6 separate regions of the Homo sapiens genome follow, and regions 2, 3, 4, 5 and 6 are each linked to region 1. Evidence: promoter capture Hi-C in 16 types of primary human blood cells and fetal thymus (Javierre and others, 2016). All regions are on one chromosome and are shown on one strand. Each heading gives the region's core, a stretch centred on a gene start or on the middle of the fragment in contact. The rest is flanking DNA. Distances are from core to core; before and after follow the strand shown. Region 1 holds the start of HTR7 (5-hydroxytryptamine receptor 7). Region 2 overlaps LINC01374 (long intergenic non-protein coding RNA 1374). Region 3 overlaps LINC01374 (long intergenic non-protein coding RNA 1374). Region 4 overlaps LINC01374 (long intergenic non-protein coding RNA 1374). Region 5 holds the start of TNKS2 (tankyrase 2). Region 6 holds the start of HECTD2 (HECT domain E3 ubiquitin protein ligase 2).

Region 1 (2,937 bases), core at 276-2,775:
ACCAGCCATTCAGACCTGGAGGAAGGCTCCAGTCAGCAAGCTCGCAAGATACAGACAGCATTACCAAACATTGAAACCAGACTTCCACAAGCAAGAATGCGATTCCGAACTGACCATCATAAAGATGCAATGTGTAAGACATACAAACCCCAATTCTAGAACCATCCAAGGTCCTTTTACTGGCCTAGGGAGTAGCTCCCACAATGGGGTAAGCAAGGTGGCTTTTCTCCGACTTATTATTATTATTTTTTAATGACTCTTTAAGGCTCACAGCAAGGCTTGATCAAGTCAGGGAGCACCAAATCCCTTCCTTCCAAAAACCAAGGCAAGGGACCCGCTGGTGGAAATGCTAAGGCTTAAAATACTCTTAACTTTGGTCTTAAATTCGTCACTACAGTAAACCAGAACATTTCCGGTTTTTCTTTTAAAGATGTACATAGGCTATGCCGTAACCGAAGTTTGGTTGGTGTAGGGTGGATTGGGGGGAGCGGTGTTTTAAGCGCAGCCCTTCATCCCGCCTTGAAGTCTAGCTTGATCCTCCCAGGAAAGGCGAGCGCGCGGGGCTGAGCTGCCAGCCGGTCCCCAGCCGGAGCCTGGGACGGGGCGGTCCGGCCCTTACCTGTCAATGCTGATCACGCACAGGGTCATGATCGAGGCCGTGCAGCACATGACGTCCATGGCGATGAAGACATTACAGAAAAAGTGTCCAAAGATCCACTTGCCCCCGATGAGGTCGGTGACGCTGACGAAGGGCATGACCGCCACAGCCACCGAGAGGTCGGCCAGCGCCAGGGACACGATCAGGTAGTTGGAGGGCTGGCGGAGCTTCTTGACGAAGCACACGGAGATCACCACCAGGCAGTTGCCCGCGATCGTCAGCAGCGTGATGAGCGTCAGGATGGAGCCGATCACAACTTTCTCGACTCTGCCGTAGTTGATCTGTTCCCCACAGCCGGAGGCATTGTCCGGGGGCGCGTCCCAGGTGGGCGCCGGGCTGGCTGTCACCTCGCTCAGCAGGTGCGGCGCCCAGGAGCCCGCGACCGGGTCGGCGCCACCGTCGGGGCTCAAGTCGGGCAGCCCGCGCCCCACTTCTGGCAGAAGGAAAGAGCGGAGGTGCCCGTAGAGGTCCGGGCGGCCGCTGCTGTTAACGTCCATCATCGCGCCGCCGTGTGCCGCTGCCCATGGAGCCGGCGCCCCGGCCACGCGCCTCCGGCTGCCGGCCCCGGGGCTTCACCTCACCGGTTCCGCTCCGCCCGGCCCAGCCATGGGGCCCGCGCCGACCGCTGGGGGGCGCCTGGCTCTGTCTCGGAGCCCCGCACTCCCCGGACCCCCGGCCGCTGCGGGTAACGCGGCAGCGCGGCCTCACGGGGACTCCCTGCGGGAGGCGCTTCGGCCCCCGACGGACGCCTGGGACGCGCGGAGTCGAGGGAGCTCGGGCTGGGCTCCGCTGGCAGCTCCACAGTTCGCAGCAGCAGCTCGGCTGCGCCGAGAGCGCCCGGGCGGCAGCGGCAGAAGTTGCGGAGTGCGCCCCGCCCCTCGCGCCCGCCGCCGCCGCCGCCGCCGCCGCCGCTCCCCTGCGGCAGCCGCGCCGCGTCCCCGCCGCCGCCGCCTCCGGCCGCTGCCCGCTCCCTCGCGCTCCTGGGACGGGATACCCGGGCTGGGCAGGCACCGCCGCCTCTCCCGCGCCTCCCTACTGTGAGGGGGCGGCGCTGCACGCGCCTCCCGGGATCCCGGGTCCCCTCGCCCGGGAAGCTGTCCTTGCCGCATGATAGATACTTAGAACCCCTCCAGCCGACCCCAGCCTCCGCACACTAGTCAGCCACAGTTCAGTGGGGGCATTTTTCTTTTGTTAAGAGGCCTAATGAGCCAGCGGATGTTTGGGCTCATTGCGAAATGAAGAACCTAGAGGGGGATTTTATTTTTCTTAATTAAACAACAACCAAAAAAACGTCTCTGAGCACTACACTAAGCAACAAATAGGTACTTCCGTTTTCTATTTTGACCGCTTATGGGAAGAAGCGAAGATGGAAAAGAAGCAGCCGAATGGGGTGAGGGTGGGAGCTCCGAGAAGAGGAAGAAAGAAAAAAAGGAGGGAGGGGGATTCCTTAAGCCCCTGGCACCCAGGAGATGAGGATGCTCTGGGGACAAGGCCTCCAAGGGGGTTACACCCATTTGGACTAATCCTTCCTGGATGTCTAGAAACAGTCCTCTCCGCTCTGAAAATAGACCCTGATTGCCTTTATATTTAGACTTCAAAGCCTAATATATTGAAAAGAGAGTTAATTTTCCCGTAGCATTCTGGAAGTCTTACACATAAGCAAAGAAATGACCGGTTATACTCTTCTATAAAGGAATCCTGGAGGTGTATGTTGATTTAATACCTATTGGCTAAAATTCCCCTTGGTATCCAAACCCTGTCAGAGCGGCTGATTTTTATTATTTGTGAGACTTGCTTCATTCCATTTTGTTTGAAGGTTTCATTGGAAGCCAGCAGTGATTTCTGTAGTTTAAGACTCTAAAAATAATCAAATCTGTTTTTTCTTGTTAGGCCCTAGCGGATTATAAATAAGAAGAAAAGGAATAAAAACCTCAAAGTATATTGATCAGAGTGCTGAATAGTACTTTCATTCTTCAAGGTGGGTATTAGCTCTGTTTTTCCAGATAGGGAAGGTTGTTAGCTCTTGCAATCAGCTGGTAAGGAATAGTTATGTTTCAAACCCAAGTTTATCTGATTACTATGCCCATATTCTTCCCTGTACACATTCAGAAAAAGTTTTAATGGAAAAAAAAAAAAGCCCTAATGTTCACAGCTCTTTTGCTGTGATCAACATTTCAGAGGCTCCTCTCTGCCTAGGATAAGCAAACCAATCCATTGAGTCAGAGGAAGAGTTGAATATAATACCTAGGCCACAAAGCAATATTATCTAACAGTTAAGA
Region 2 (2,937 bases), core at 118-2,617, 990 kb before region 1:
CCACTTATGTGTGCACAGTAATTGCTGAGATTACTGGGCTTATGGCAGGGTGTTTGGGGCCTAATTCTCAGCTCTCAAGAGGGGATGAAAGTGAGTCAGGAACAGACTTTGACTCCTTTTTAATTGTTATGTGAGTCATTTGCATATTAATCTAAAGCCTAATTTGTTCAGCTCCCTGCTTCTTAAAAGTACATGCCAAATGACTGTTTGGTGCTTTTTAGGGACAGTATCAGGGTCTGTTCCCAGGCATTGGGAGTTGAGAGAGGGAAAAGTTGAAATAGGACAAAATATAAACAACTAAGATAGAGTTTTTTTTCAATAGGCTGGAGGACCTCGTAGTAGCATCTCTGGGTGTGCTGTCCCCTTATCATTTCACAATGCCTGACATTCCAACACAATGGATTCAAGTCCTTCTTTTTAATTTTTATTTATTTGTTTAATTTCAATAGTTTTGGGGGTACAGGTGGCTTTTGGTTACGTGGATAAGTTCTTTAGTGATGATTTCTGAGGTTTTTCATGCACCCATCACCTGAGCAGTGAACACTGTACCCAATATGTAGTCTTTTATCCCTCACCCTCCTCCATCCTTCCCTGCCAAATCCTCAAAGTCCATTATATCCTTCTTATGCCATTGCCTCCTCATAGCTTAGCTCCCACTTTTAAGTGAGAACATATGGTATTTGGTTTTCCATTCCTGAGTTACATTACTTGGAATAAGGGCCTTCAACTCCATCCAAGTTGCTGCAAAGGCCATAGTTCCATTCAATTTTAAGGCTGAGTAGTATTCCATGGTGCATATATACCACATTTGTTTATCCACTCATTGGTTGATGGGCATTTACATTGGGTCCATATTTTGCAATTGCGAGTTATGCTGCTGTAAACATGTGTGTGCATGTGTCTTTTTCATATAATGACTTCTTTTCCTTTGGGTAGATATCCAGTAGTGGGACTGCTGGGTCGAATGGCAGCTCTACTTTCATTTCCTTAAGGAATCTCCATACTATTTTCCATAGTGGTTATACTCATTACATTCCCACCAGCAGTGTGAAAGTGTTCCCTTTTCTCTGCATCCATGCCAATATCTATTATTTTTTGATATCTAAATTATGACTATTCTTGCAGGTGTAAGGTGGTATCTCATTGTGGTTTTAATTTGTCTTTCCCTGATAATTAGTGATGTTGAGCATTTTTTCATATTTTTCTTGGCCATTTGTATATCTTCTTTTGAGAATTGTCTACTCATGTCCTTTGCCCACTATTTGATGGGATTATTATTATTTTTTCTTGCAGATTTGTTTGAGTTCCTTGTAGGTTCTGGATATTAGTTCTTAGTTAGATATATAGTTTGCAAATGTTTTCTCCTACTCTGTGGATTGTTTTTTTCACTCTGCTGGTTATTTCTTTTGCTGTGCAGAAGGCTTTTAAATCAAGTCGTTCTTTAAAATGAAAATAGCTTTTGAGGGGAAAGGGGTGGGAAGTGGGACACCATACACTAGTTTTTGGTCAGAAAAATGATTTAGTGTATCAGTTCCAGTAAACAATGATGGTGTAGACATTGGATACTGAGCAGATTACCTGAGTCCAAATTCTTTGTGCAAATTCTTTAGCCTTTATGTTTCTCCATTTATTATACTGACATGAGGATAATGATGATGCTATCTAGTAGTTGCCATTAGGATGTAATGCACAACAATATGTCAGGAACATAGTGTAGTGCCTGCCTGGTAGTAATAAATGTTAGCTATTATTATTATTTCTCATTAATGTCAAGTGGCAATGGAGGGATAATTTTATAGCTGGAGCTGAGAGTGGCGAGAGGGAAAAGTTGAGATAGGACTAAATATAAACATCTAAGTTACAGTTTTTGTGTTTTTTTTCCCACAGGCTAGACCTAGCATCACTGGGCATGCTATTTCTTACTGTGTGCCAGTGTTTCAGACCAGAATGATAGATGCCTCCTTCACCCCTCTCTGGACTAATGGGCGATAAAGATTTTGTAATGAGACATGGAGAGATTGTTCTGTTTCCTACCTACTGCATCTGGTGTTTGCTTAGTTGACTGTCTTTTTTTCTCCAGGCAGTAAGTTACTTGAGGACACGGACTTTGTTGTATCAATCTTTTAAATATTACCACTAGCACAGAACCACTGAGAATATATTTATTTCTAAATAAAATATTCCTTGAATGAACAAATAAATAAATCTTCATATTTAATTCTTGAGGAAATCAGTTGTCTATATGTGTAGGCAGATATATTTAGATATTTATGTTCACAGCTAAATTTTTAAATAATCAAGATGATGCTAAATTCTATGTGCAAACTTGAGCAGATTCCAGAAATACTTACTCTGTTACTGGTCAGTGAAATTCACTTCTCCTTCAATTCTAGAGAAAACAAAAATCCCAAGCAAAATGATACAAGCCATTTAAACTCTCAAAAGTCTCAAAAAGTAGAAATGTTACCCACTGGAGCATAAGATGAACCAATTGAGGATGAGGATTTGAGAAATAAAATGTTTCATTTTTATCGACAGCGAGCCAGTATGATATTAAGACAAAAGACAGCCCTTGATGAAAGAGGCAGTCAATTCTATCTTTGAGAATTCAGTTTTAAAAAAACCAGATTAACTGGTGATTTTCCTGAAGTGACCTGTCAATTTGTTCCGATAGGTTAATTTGGTAGAATCAGCCTCAGATTGGTTTTTCAGCGTGTACCTTAATTGTATTACTTTTCAGCAAAATATTTCTGTCAATCAGAAAATGTTTTTAGAATTAACCTGCTTGCAACGCTGAGGTCAAGGAGAGCGGATCCCAAGGACAGCAGGGATCTCTATATATTGTGCACTAGGGAGAGAGCACCCTATGTGGAAATGTGGGGCTTGAAAATTCAGGGACCATGTTGGGCAGTAAGTTCATATTGATATATTTTCTTT
Region 3 (2,937 bases), core at 317-2,816, 970 kb before region 1:
GGAAACACTTCAATCTAGCAACTGGTTACTGTAATGAAAAGATATAGTGAAACTAGATACTTGAATTGACCAGTTTATATATTAATAATTTTGTGATGGATTCAATTAAAGATTTTATGAAAACCTTGGAAGAGTATGAAATAATTATACAGTGTTTATTATTTTAGCTCTCATTTATCTATTTTGGATACCTGAACTTATATGTTAAAGAACATTAAGTACATATAGTTAGGTTGGAACTCAGCTGGGATTCAACTTGTTTGCTGAAACTTCAGATACTATAAACTAGTATCCTGTGTAGTCAGAATTATATTATCTTGACTCATTAACTTTATTTAGCATCTATTTTATACTACATACTGATTTTATTAACTTCTAATCACTCTTGTTTCACTTGTTTGAGATAGGTAAAGCAGAATTTATCTGGAGTTTAAGATTAAGGCTGACAGATTAAATCTGCTTCTGTTATTGTTTGTTTCTGATATTAAAAGAGACTTCTTATTATGACCCCAGTCCATCCAAATTGTATACTATAATGGATTCTATATGAATAAATTAAGGGATCTAGATTTTAATAGTAAAACCATTTTATAGCAGCAGTAGTTTTATAAATGGATATTTTACCTCTTAAACAAAATGTAATTGGAAAATAAAATACACTGTCATTCAAATAACATCTCACGTTATAAATAATCAGTTTGGATGCAGCTACAAGATTTTTCTGGCACAGAAGTAAATTAAACACTTTAGTAAATTGTCAAACTGATGAAAATCCTAACCCTGTGCATGTTGTTTTAATGGTGTAAGAATATGGACAACAAGATGTTTTTGTTCTTTTATTTTTATCAGAGTAAATGGAAGAATAGTGTCACAGACAAAGGTTCTAGGATTTTCCTGGGAAAAGGAGGTTATAGCAGTTAGAAACGCCAGCAGTAGCTTACACCAATAATTTATTAAGATTTTTGTTTTTACATTATTGGCATTCCAGGGGTAGGTGGTTACTGTTGTAGGCTCATCTTCTCAACTCTCCCATCAGGGACCCAGTTACTTTCTATCATTCTGAACTGTTATTCTTCGCGTGTACACCTTCATTCTCCTGTTGGTTGCCTCACGGCTACGAGATGGCTGCTATAGGTCCAGCCATCAGGAAAAATGGGGAAGGAGCAGGACATGTAAGATCCTTTATCAGGCCACCTTCACATATATTTTCTAGACAAGGATTATATCACCGGGCCATATTTAGTTGCAAGGAGACTGGGAAAGTGAGGAACAGAATTGATTTGGCTAATCACAACTCATCTCCAGAGAATAGGCAATTTCTGCTTCCAAATAAAGTTGGATACTGTTCAGGAAGAACAGGCTGGATATAAACCGTTTGTGTTTTGGTCAGCAATATGTTCTGGTTTTGGTTTGGTGGGAAACAGGAAGCTTACTGAGGAAGGGAGACACCTGGAAGTAGTCTTAATCTGGCCATAAGGACCATGACACTCTAATATTATTTGATGGTGTGTGGGTTTCTTTTTTTCCAGAGACATCTATAAACATGGCTTTGTTACTAAGCCAAAGCCAATTATCTTTCAAAGTGATCTTCAGTTTGCTATTAGCTTCCCAGAAAGAACAGTATGATTATTAATAAGATTGAGACTAATAAACTACTGATGAGCACCAGTGAGCTAATTTGTAACCTCATTTTTATAAATGACATAAGCTTTTCACCCTAAGAAAAAGAGATATATTGAGAAGACAAACAAACAAAAAATCCAAAACTAATCTTCTTCCTCCAGACAGAATCTCTTCCTTCTTTTCTTCTAACATGAAATATTGTTGTTAACCAAATATTTTTCTTTTAAAATTCTAGGAATCACTTTTTGGAAATCTAGAATTAGTGAACTCAAATGGTTGTTAATGTTTTATTATTGAAATAGTGAAGCAAACTAAAATAATTAAAACTGATATGGATTACCATATTTATTAGCATATATTTCCTACATAATAAATAGTTTGCAGTTGATATGAGAAGAGAGGAAGCTGTGAGATTACCTGACTGGATGGACCTTTGCAGCACTGACACCTGCTGCTGAATTTCCAGAAATTTCTCCTGGCAAATCTCTGTGCTGAGAAAGGAGTAAACCAATTTAGAGAAGAGGCTTACGAGTCCAAACAGGAGCAGATGATGAAGAATCAGATAAACATTAACGCCTCAACCTACTTAAGCAACTAAGATTCAATTAAACCCAGTTCATACCTCTTTGGTAAGTCTGAAGTTTCAGAACACTTGCTCTAAAATTCAAATTACTGAGCTGTACAAATTATTTTTCCTCCAATTGTGTGATGAAATATGGGAAAGACAGAAAAAGACACAAATGCATATGGTAATCCAGAAAAGATTCCCCCTCCCTATTTTCTTTTGAGTTAGATAAAAGCTAGAGCACCTAACAGAATAAGATACCGAGAGAACCAGTGTAGTCATCCAAAACAATGAAACAACTATTTTAATTCATAAAAAAGCATCATTGTAGTAGCCTTCATTAGGTATTCCTTCTAAAGTCACTTTAAAGGAAAAAGAATATGTTCAGACATAGCAAAAGAAAAAAAACACGAAGGCAAAATTCCTTCAGATCAGGTTTTGGAGATTTTTTTTATATTAAACCCATTTTGTAAATAGGTTTTCCACCTGATTTAAACCAATCGTTTTGTTATTCAAAAGTCTAGGTTGTTGTTTTGCATTTTAAAATACAGCCATTCCCCAGGGAACTGTCTCTGCGATTAGAGGGAGAATTTTAAATTCCCCTTTCCACAGATAGATGTGTACAGGAAAGAACACCAAACTGAAAGAGCAGCTTGGCTCTGCCACCTATCAAATTAGGTAAATCTGTCTCCCTCTGGGTTTCACTCTCTCCTCTGTAATATGATAAGTACCTAGATTGGACTAGATGA
Region 4 (2,937 bases), core at 159-2,658, 960 kb before region 1:
ATCTATATATCTCTGTATCTATTAATATCTATCTATCACCTTTTCTAAAAGAATAAGAAGCAGTAGGATGTGTCCTGTTTATTTTAGGCTATAGTGTATGGTTGAATTTGTTCACCAAGTTTTGTTTTATAATCTAGAATTTTGATATAACTCAATGTTTCTAATTTTTGAGAAATTACAGAAAATGGAATAGATTTCAAAATAGTGGAGCAAATTTCTGGGCAAACTTGATTCTTTCACAAAGGAAAAAGGAGAATGAAGTCTGCACACCACAGACTGGTGTCCTTGAGACTAATATTGGGAAAGACTGTAGAATAAATTACTGAAAGATAATTACTAAATATTTAGCTAAAGAAAGTGTATTCGCTAAAAGATAATAATAAATTTGTAAAACTCATGATTGTCCAAGTATTTCACTGTACTGTATCATAGAGTATCTTTACTCTTAAGGTTATGTCTATTGTTCCTATAAGATAGAAATACTGTATAATGGTATGCTACTGCCATGCTTTCCTTCTCAATGCTGTGTTCATTAAGTCAACTTGGCAGCTTGAAATTGGTCTTGGTGGGAATATTTATACCAGGAAAATCAGCAAATGCTATAAGTCAGATCTGGATTTTTTTGTTGTTGACTGTCTAGACTTAAGAAAGTGATGAAGCAAATGTAAATAATACAAATAGACACAATAGTATGTTGTGTCTATAGCCATTACACTGTGAATAGCATATAACATTAAGAAAATATTTTTGCAGTATTTGAAAACTGTTTGCCAATTCAGCAAATAAATCATTCACATCATTGACAGATAAACAAAGTTCCAACATAGGTCCCTGCTGTTTTGCTTTTGTCCTTACTTGTTAACATGAATGAAAGTATCAACCAAAATTCATGTCATAAATAAGCTCATTCATTGTTTGCAACCATAGGTTGAATACAGATACAAGATTCAGCAAAAATCGGCAAAAGCATTCTGTGAGAATCAATTTCTACATGAAATTTACAATAAAGAGAGTGGTGTATTTTATTATTATTTGTAAATTTTGAGTTATAATTCTTTATATCAGTAAAATTTGTAATAAGCTTTTATCAATACAATTTTGTGTGTATGTATATATGTGTGTGTGTATATATATGTGTGTACATGTGTGTATATATATACATATGTACATATCTATACATACATATACATGTATATACATATACATATATATACATGTGTATATATATACACACACACACATATATACATACACACACACACACACACACACATATATATATATATATATTTTTTTTCCCCTCCCTCAAATGACTGGTTGTTAAACATTTACCAACACACCGTGGCCTAAACTTATCCCTAAATCCCATCCTGCTTATTTTCTCCTGTTGAGATACTGAGTACTATTCCCTCAATTATTCTTTCTTTGATTTCCTATGTAATGTGTAGAATGTCCCATTATATTTGGGCATGTATTTCTCTTCTATAATACTTAACTTTGAGTTTCAGTCACTGGTCATCCTATTGGCAACTCTCTGGGAAAACATGTCTTCTCCCTCTCTTTGTGACATGCATTATGGCCTTAGCTTATAGCCCATTATTCTATCATCAGGTCCTGAAAATGGAAATTGATTTTACAGCACATCTTGTAGCCATTTGTTCACTTCCCACTTTTTCCTTTCTCATCCAAATTACAACTCTCAACTCTAATGATGTTGAAATATATGAAGTCCCACTTAAGCTTGCAAGTCCTCCAGCTTCCCTCCATGGACTTCATAGTCCTGGGAGATGTTTTCTAGGCCTCTATGGCAGAATTCGCAGTCTCCACATGTCAGTAGAAGCAGGGAGAAGGTAACTGTCATGGCCTCCATATTCTCCATAGATGGGTCTGCTACTAGGAGGACATGTCAGGCTTATGAGAATCAAATCTCTGTTATGCCAAGGAAGTTGACATTGAAGACTGAGTGCTTTTTACTGCAGGCCAAGAAACAGGCTTCTTGGAGCTTTCAAGAACTACTCTTCTTGTTATAGGAGGTAAAAATAACCACTTCTCTGATAAGTGACAATTCTTCCTGTGTACCTGTGAAGAAACTGCCTCAGACTATTGTAAGGCCTTATTGCTCCAGTCTCCTCTCATCATCATCTTCTTGGTCATTTTCTTCCACGCACTAGTGTCTCCTCAGGCTTCTTGTTGTCATCACCTTCTTGGTTATTTGAGGTTTCAGCTTAGAGGTCTCCTCCAAGAAGCCTTCCCTGCGTGGTAGGGCTCCTAGGTACCCCTGCAGCACTCTGCACTCTGACTGCAGAAGTGGTGGCATTGCTACATAACTGCCTTACTTCTAAACTGTTTCTCACACTGCTCTGTGAGAACAGAGACCATGTCTCTTTTCTCTATGACTTTATCTTCAGCCCCAGTGTAGTGCCTAATAAAAGGCAGGCACTCAATATATGTGCACTGAATGAAGCAATGAATGAATCATTGAGTGTTTTCTTTCACATATTATTTCCTTCATTTTCTCTTTAGCTCCTCATTGTGAATATAAATAGAGAGTCCTCCACTTCTTATGCAGGAAGAGGAACCATTATGCAGGGAGACCACTCATATTTGACACATATAGCAGTAATTGCTTATGGAAAAAATTCAAGTGCAACACAGTTCCACCATTTTGTCATCTTATTTTAATGTAAGAACAGAGCCTCTTGGAAAGAAGAGATTCATATAAAAATCTGGCATCTATTTTCCAGATGCTGGAGACAAAGCCTTCATATAGCCTTAGTTTAGCTTTTTATATACCAAAAAAGTTATTTTATCATCTGGTTTGGATGCTGACCAGTGATGATTACTGGGTTGGAAACAGCTTACTATACTTAGCCATCTATCAATAAATGCAATCACCAGCTGTGATAAATTAGGATTATAGAAGACTTAGGTGAGAAT
Region 5 (2,937 bases), core at 118-2,617, 940 kb after region 1:
ATTGCAGAGTTCTTAATTGGCCTAATTTCAATATTATTGTGTTTAAGGGAACAGATAGGCCCCAGGAGAGGGAGAGAGATGGCAGAGTAGCCTGTCAGTGGGGCAGTCAGAACATACACATTTATTGATTGATTGCTGTCTTCTATGGGTGTGGTTTGTGGTGCCTCAAAACAATTACAACAGTGATTTCAACTTATCACTGATCATAGATCACCATAGCAGATTTATGGGAAGAAAAATGATAAACGCAATCATATTGGTAGTGTTCTAGTCCTAGGTTCGTTCATGCATGTTCATGTTATTGATAAGCACCATAACTTCAATTTCATATGTATAAAAATGCTCAAAAAAGTGTACATCCTCTTTTAGCACTGTAGTGAGTCAACATTCCCCAACAAAAACTGGATTTCCTGAAAAACAGGTTAAGGTAGGAGGTTGGGGGGGGGATGCTTTTCAGAATGGCAAAGGTCAACATGTATCATCTTCTGTAAGTAAAATGTATGTATAGGCATACCTTTCTTTCAGTTTAAGACAAGGGGGTGTAGTGGGGAATTATCGTGTAAAACTACACCAGTATCTTAAGCATGAAAATCAATTATATGCTTTTCTTTTGTTTGTTGGTCAAAGAAAAAGATTATAACTCAGAAAACTTTCTTGGAGATGCGTATGCTCAGTGTATCCAAACTTTAGGCATGTCAGGTACAATATTGATTTACAAAAAGTTCCTCTAATCAATCCTGAGCTAATAACTTACTGTGGAAAGAGTAATTGATCAGAGCCATCCCTCCAATTGGAGTCAACTTCCATGACTGTTCGGATTTCCTTTATTTTGGGGGCAGTTCATCCAAACTTCTATTAAACGGCAACTAGTTCACTTTTGAGAAGTGGTTTACAAGAAACAACAACAACAACAACAAAGCAGTTGCGGAGGAAAGAAAAGAGACAAAGTAAAAAAAACGGAAAAGAAATCTCCCAGGAGAAAGGGATGTGGAAGCTGAAAACACGGACAATTTCCACAGTAAGACTTCCAAAAGAATGTGCAAGATCCGAGCAAAACTTTCAAGGGCTCTTTTTCAGTGTAATGGTAGTGAGAAAGTTCAGCCTGGAAAGCCCAGGGCTTAAAACAACAACAACAAAAAACACAATATGCAGGATCGTTCGGCTTCAGCAGAACCCACCGCAAAGATGGCGGTGGGACGAAGCCCCTTCTCCCGCCGCCGAAGCCTCTCGCCTCACATTTCCCACAAACCCTTCGCGCCGCCTCGCTAGCCGAAACCTGCCCAGCCGGTGCCCGGCCACTGCGCACGCGCGGGACGACGTCACGTGCGCTCCCGGGGCTGGACGGAGCTGGCAGGAGGGGCCTTGCCAGCTTCCGCCGCCGCGTCGTTTCAGGACCCGGACGGCGGATTCGCGCTGCCTCCGCCGCCGCGGGGCAGCCGGGGGGCAGGGAGCCCAGCGAGGGGCGCGCGTGGGCGCGGCCATGGGACTGCGCCGGATCCGGTGACAGCAGGGAGCCAAGCGGCCCGGGCCCTGAGCGCGTCTTCTCCGGGGGGCCTCGCCCTCCTGCTCGCGGGGCCGGGGCTCCTGCTCCGGTTGCTGGCGCTGTTGCTGGCTGTGGCGGCGGCCAGGATCATGTCGGGTCGCCGCTGCGCCGGCGGGGGAGCGGCCTGCGCGAGCGCCGCGGCCGAGGCCGTGGAGCCGGCCGCCCGAGAGCTGTTCGAGGCGTGCCGCAACGGGGACGTGGAACGAGTCAAGAGGCTGGTGACGCCTGAGAAGGTGAACAGCCGCGACACGGCGGGCAGGAAATCCACCCCGCTGCACTTCGCCGCAGGTAACCGGGGCCAGCGTCCCCTCGCCTCGCTCCAGACCCCACCTGCGCAGCCGGGGCCCACAGGTCTGAAACCAGTGCTCCTCCGCCTCCCGACCTTTCTCCAGGACTCTGGTCCTGGTGATCTCGCTCTCTTCCAGTGGGGACTAAGGAGATTAGGGGTAGGGTGAGCGTGCCACACTCGCTGGAAGTTTTTTGTTTTGTCTTGGTTTGGTTTTTTTGCCAGGTGTTGGGGGTGGTTTGGGGTTTTGGCTTTGTTTTGTTTTACAGTATCAACAATACCTGTACCAACTTCCGGTCTTGTTACCCTAGAAGGCCTCTACACACAAGAAAGAGTAGGGGACGTAGTTGATAGACCTTATGATTTAAAAGGTCAGTTACCTCCAAAATTTTTCGTTCTTGCAAGTTCCATTTGGGTTAAGGTCTTGAAGGACTTTGTAAAATACAAGGATGTAATTTAGGAGGAGTAGCTTAATAGGACGTTGACACATTAGCGTTAATTGGTTTATCAGAATAGCCAATCATTACCAAGTTTCTGGAGTGACTAGAACGGGAAATAGGCAAGTTTGGGAGAACTGAAACCTGACTTAGGCTGGGTGCGGGAAGCCTTAGACACACACACATACAAGTTGGGCGGAAAGTGGTAGTATAAGAGAAAAGATAGTGCAAGTACTTTAGCTTGAATCTAGAATTTAAGTTGGGACTAACCTTGCTTCATTCTGAAATTTAGATCGTTTGAATTACATTATTTTAATATTTATTAGGTTCACTTTATGATTTAAGCATATTAAATTTAGTCGAAAAATTTAAAAGAGCCATAGATGGGATATTCAGCTTATTCCCATAAAGCATGCATGCTGTTCACTTGTAGGAAAGATGATGACTGTTTCTAACTTCAGGTGAGTCATGCGTGATTGAAAATGGGAGTACCTCCTCTTACCTCTGACAATCCTGGTTTTTTGTTTTGTGTATTTCATGATTGTTTAAAACAATTTTTTGAAAAATCGGGGAATACCTTTTAAAGTACTCCTGTTCTTTTGGGGCTAGATTGATGAAGAGAAAAGGAGCAGTGAGAAATATTTCCTCTTTCACAGATATTACTTTTACAC
Region 6 (2,937 bases), core at 238-2,737, 550 kb after region 1:
CTTTCTATAAATGAAAGTCAGAATTCAAAATTTAGAAGGCAACATTGTTTGCTTCAGATCTACTTGTTACAAATTGTGGGTTTGAAAACATGCAACCTTATCTCATGATGCACCATAACTAGTATTTAGTTATACTAATAACTCCAAATTATGTAAACAATAGATACCCCGAAATCATATTTGGGTTTGTTTCAGAGATATTTTTGGTTCTTATATTTGGACTTAGGTACTCTTGATCTAAAAATTCACTCAACCTCCAATAAAATAATGAAGGCACAGATAAAAAATCTGATAGAGCTGAATATCGAAATTCCTTGCTTTTAACAGGCGATACAGCGCATTCTTACTCTCTTTTCTCCTAGATCAGCAGGTGTCCCCGCCGCTCCAGTAGACTGAGAAAAAGGAAAAGGAGGGGGCGACAAGAAAGGAAAGGAAATTGTCTAGGTGTCCTGGTGGTGGAGGTGGGGGGTATTTTAATTTCATAATTAAAAGCTCTCTTCTTCGGCTTTCAAGTTTTTACTCCTATTTGTAATGATTTGATTGAGGACTGTGCAGCAGAGTTTGGGTATGTACATCTCTAACATAAACGGAAAGGAACAAGGAAGGGACGGATAGGAGACAGCAAAGGGTTGCGGGGAGAGAGCAAAACGTAGGCGCGTGGGGACGGGAAGGGAGAGGCGGATTTGGCAGTCAAAGAGGGACGAGAGGAACAGGAATGGAAAGTGTGGACTGGCCGTCCAATCCTATGGGGGAAGGGGAAAGGGGGGGCCCACCACGTCGCACTCCTCCCCACCTCCAGGCTTTTCCTGTGTAGGCTGAAGCCATCCAGGCGTGTACAAAAGAGTCGGTTGCTGAGCCAGGAAGGCTGTCTCCCCGGGCTGCGCAAGCTCCGGGCCGCCTCTCCTGGGCTCAGGAGGGCGGGCAAGGATAAGAAGGCAGAAGCCCCAAGGCGGACAGCTTTGTGGGCGCCTGGAAGAAGGCGAAAGGCCACCAGCCCAGACCCCGAGGGCGCTTGCCCGCGGGACTCGGCGCCGCAGGCCAGGGCCGTCCGTGAAGGGTAGTCTGTGCCTACGTCCTGCCCTACTGGTACCACTCGGACACTCTATCCCCGTCCGACCCTTTGCAGGGCTCGACTTGTCTCCCCGACTGCCCGTCCTTAGTCCAGGTTCTCCTGCGCGGCCCGGGTGCGGGGTCTCCTCGTCATCTCGGGCGACACTCTGCAAACAATATGGCGGTCGGGCGTCGACCGTGGCGCCTTCTCTCCGGGCCCTCGGGGTTGACGAGGGGGACTACCGCCGGCGCTCCCGACCCGCGACGCGCGAGCCCCGGGCGGGCGGGGGAGGCGAGAGCAAGAAACCTGTGGGACCTGTGGGGAGCCGCGTCCGCGGGGCTGGCGCGCGCGGGGGCGGCCTCGGGCTCGCGCGCAAAGGCGCGGGCGCGGGCGGGGGCGGAGTGGCGGCGGCAGCGGCGGCTAGAAGCGGCAGCCCAGAGCCCTCTCGCGGCCGCGGCGGCAGCAGCAGCGCCAGCCCCAGCAACACTGAGGCCGCCGCCGCCGCCTGGCGCTCCCGCCGCCCGGCCCGACATGAGTGAGGCGGTTCGGGTACCCTCGCCCGCCACTCCGCTGGTGGTGGCGGCGCCCGCGCCTGAGGAGAGGAAAGGGAAGGAGTCAGAGCGCGAGAAGCTGCCGCCCATCGTATCGGCGGGCGCCGGCGCGACCGCGGTAGGTGGTGGGCCGGGGCCGTCTGGCGCCCCGGACGGCGGGAGTTGGGAGGGACGGCGGCCGGGCGAGGGCCGTCAGGAGGCCTGCGTTTACCCTGGGCACGCCCTGGCACTCCAGGGAGACGCACTCAGGCCGCCCTTCCTTGGGCAGAAATAAAAGAGTTGTGCCTCGTGGACAGCCCCGAACACTTCGCGAGGTACACCTACCACCCTCGGGAAATGTTGGGGGTGGTCGGTTCCGCTGGATGTTTGGGTTATTTTCTGGGGCTTGGGCCCCCACTTTCTCTAAGAGAATGACCTGCATCTTGAGTCGGCATGATCTGTTGGATGAGCATAGGTGTCAGCAGGCGGGAGTGGGTTTTCCACGGAGGTGCCTGCCTGCCTGCCTGCCTTGGAGGCGCGCAGATTTTTGTCCTTTTCTTCGCTTTTCTTTCCCTTCCCCCTTCAGATTAAACAGGCTCTGCGGCGAGTTTCCACTTAATTGTGACCTTTCCGTTGCTGTCAGTGTAGTGGGAGGTAGATGCATCAGTGATGGTTTTATTTTTCATATGGTACAGACATGTGACTCAGGTGGGGGGAGGCTTTTTGAACCTTTTATTTAAACCCAAGTTATCTAAGCTTGACAGGGATGATTTCCCAGCTGTATCTTCGTAAGGGTTATTTGGAGAGCGCTGTCAGGCTTCAAACTACATATTGCCAGATGATGTCATGGGACAGCCCCCTCCCCCTCTTTCCCTATTTTTACTGGTGGTTGTGACTGGTTAATTTGAAGCACAATTTAAAAAAAAACCTCGGATTTTGCAATTTTTTATTTTGACATAATATTTAAGTACTTTTTGAAAGTTTGCTTTGATATATTTAAAGATCATGACTTGTCATGCAGCTGTGTGTGACAAAATAGTAAAAGTTTAGTGAACATTATACATTTTCTTTATTCCTACTTGCGGTTCATTTCTTAAAACCTCCCTCTTAAATGACTAAGAACTTACTAAAATAGCTCACTCTTCGTTAAGTACTGTATTGGTGTTAGGAATAATTTTCGGATTCGGTAGGTTTTTCAAAAATGTCTGAGGGCCCTGATAACTGGAAATTGTTAAAACAAGCTCTTTAAATCAATGCAGCAAATTGCGAACAGTAATGATACACGTTTAAAAGCGTAGCTACAATTGATTGGTAGATTGGAGCTGGGGTTAGGGATTACCCTAGAAAATGCTTTGA

Evidence for each region. Contacts are between HindIII fragments. The CHiCAGO score rates a contact against its expected background, and 5 or more counts as called.
Region 2: a contact is called between a fragment that was not itself captured here and the fragment with the promoter of HTR7 in region 1, in 2 of 17 cell types (naive B cells and M0 macrophages). The highest score is 6.6, in naive B cells.
Region 3: a contact is called between a fragment that was not itself captured here and the fragment with the promoter of HTR7 in region 1, in 5 of 17 cell types (M0 macrophages, M1 macrophages, M2 macrophages and 2 more). The highest score is 9.8, in M0 macrophages.
Region 4: a contact is called between a fragment that was not itself captured here and the fragment with the promoter of HTR7 in region 1, in 2 of 17 cell types (M0 macrophages and M2 macrophages). The highest score is 9.0, in M0 macrophages.
Region 5: a contact is called between the fragment with the promoter of TNKS2 here and the fragment with the promoter of HTR7 in region 1, in 4 of 17 cell types (fetal thymus, total CD4 T cells, activated CD4 T cells and 1 more). The highest score is 7.3, in fetal thymus.
Region 6: a contact is called between the fragment with the promoter of HECTD2 here and the fragment with the promoter of HTR7 in region 1, in 10 of 17 cell types (fetal thymus, activated CD4 T cells, total CD8 T cells and 7 more). The highest score is 10.0, in fetal thymus.

Annotation. Positions count from the first base shown.
Region 1 is chr10:90,856,514-90,859,450 of GRCh38, forward strand. HTR7 (5-hydroxytryptamine receptor 7) reads right to left here and starts at 1,526. Exons shown (of 4, transcript NM_019859.4): 1 at 620-1,526. The coding sequence starts at 1,158. RefSeq lists silencers at 1,124-1,173, 1,194-1,563. The HindIII fragment of the contact is 8,867 bases long and covers 1-2,937 here.
Region 2 is chr10:89,862,117-89,865,053 of GRCh38, forward strand. The region is part of intron 1 of LINC01374 (long intergenic non-protein coding RNA 1374); the gene reads left to right. Among named protein-coding and RNA genes, the nearest start is that of LINC01374, 9.7 kb to the left of the region's middle. The HindIII fragment of the contact is 8,705 bases long and covers 1-2,937 here.
Region 3 is chr10:89,884,698-89,887,634 of GRCh38, forward strand. All of the region lies in intron 1 of LINC01374 (long intergenic non-protein coding RNA 1374), which reads left to right. Among named protein-coding and RNA genes, the nearest start is that of LINC01374, 32 kb to the left of the region's middle. The HindIII fragment of the contact is 280 bases long and covers 1,427-1,706 here.
Region 4 is chr10:89,901,311-89,904,247 of GRCh38, forward strand. All of the region lies in intron 1 of LINC01374 (long intergenic non-protein coding RNA 1374), which reads left to right. Among named protein-coding and RNA genes, the nearest start is that of LINC01374, 49 kb to the left of the region's middle. The HindIII fragment of the contact is 659 bases long and covers 1,080-1,738 here.
Region 5 is chr10:91,797,059-91,799,995 of GRCh38, forward strand. TNKS2 (tankyrase 2) reads left to right here and starts at 1,368. Exons shown (of 27, transcript NM_025235.4): 1 at 1,368-1,831. The coding sequence starts at 1,633. TNKS2-DT (TNKS2 divergent transcript) reads right to left here and starts at 1,233. Exons shown (of 2, transcript NR_108071.1): 1 at 1,179-1,233. RefSeq lists an enhancer at 1,077-1,246 and a silencer at 1,327-1,736. The HindIII fragment of the contact is 6,559 bases long and covers 1-2,937 here.
Region 6 is chr10:91,408,857-91,411,793 of GRCh38, forward strand. HECTD2 (HECT domain E3 ubiquitin protein ligase 2) reads left to right here and starts at 1,488. Exons shown (of 21, transcript NM_182765.6): 1 at 1,488-1,720. The coding sequence starts at 1,583. The region is part of intron 3 of HECTD2-AS1 (HECTD2 antisense RNA 1); the gene reads right to left. RefSeq lists an enhancer at 895-1,104 and a silencer at 1,255-1,844. The HindIII fragment of the contact is 4,522 bases long and covers 1-2,335 here.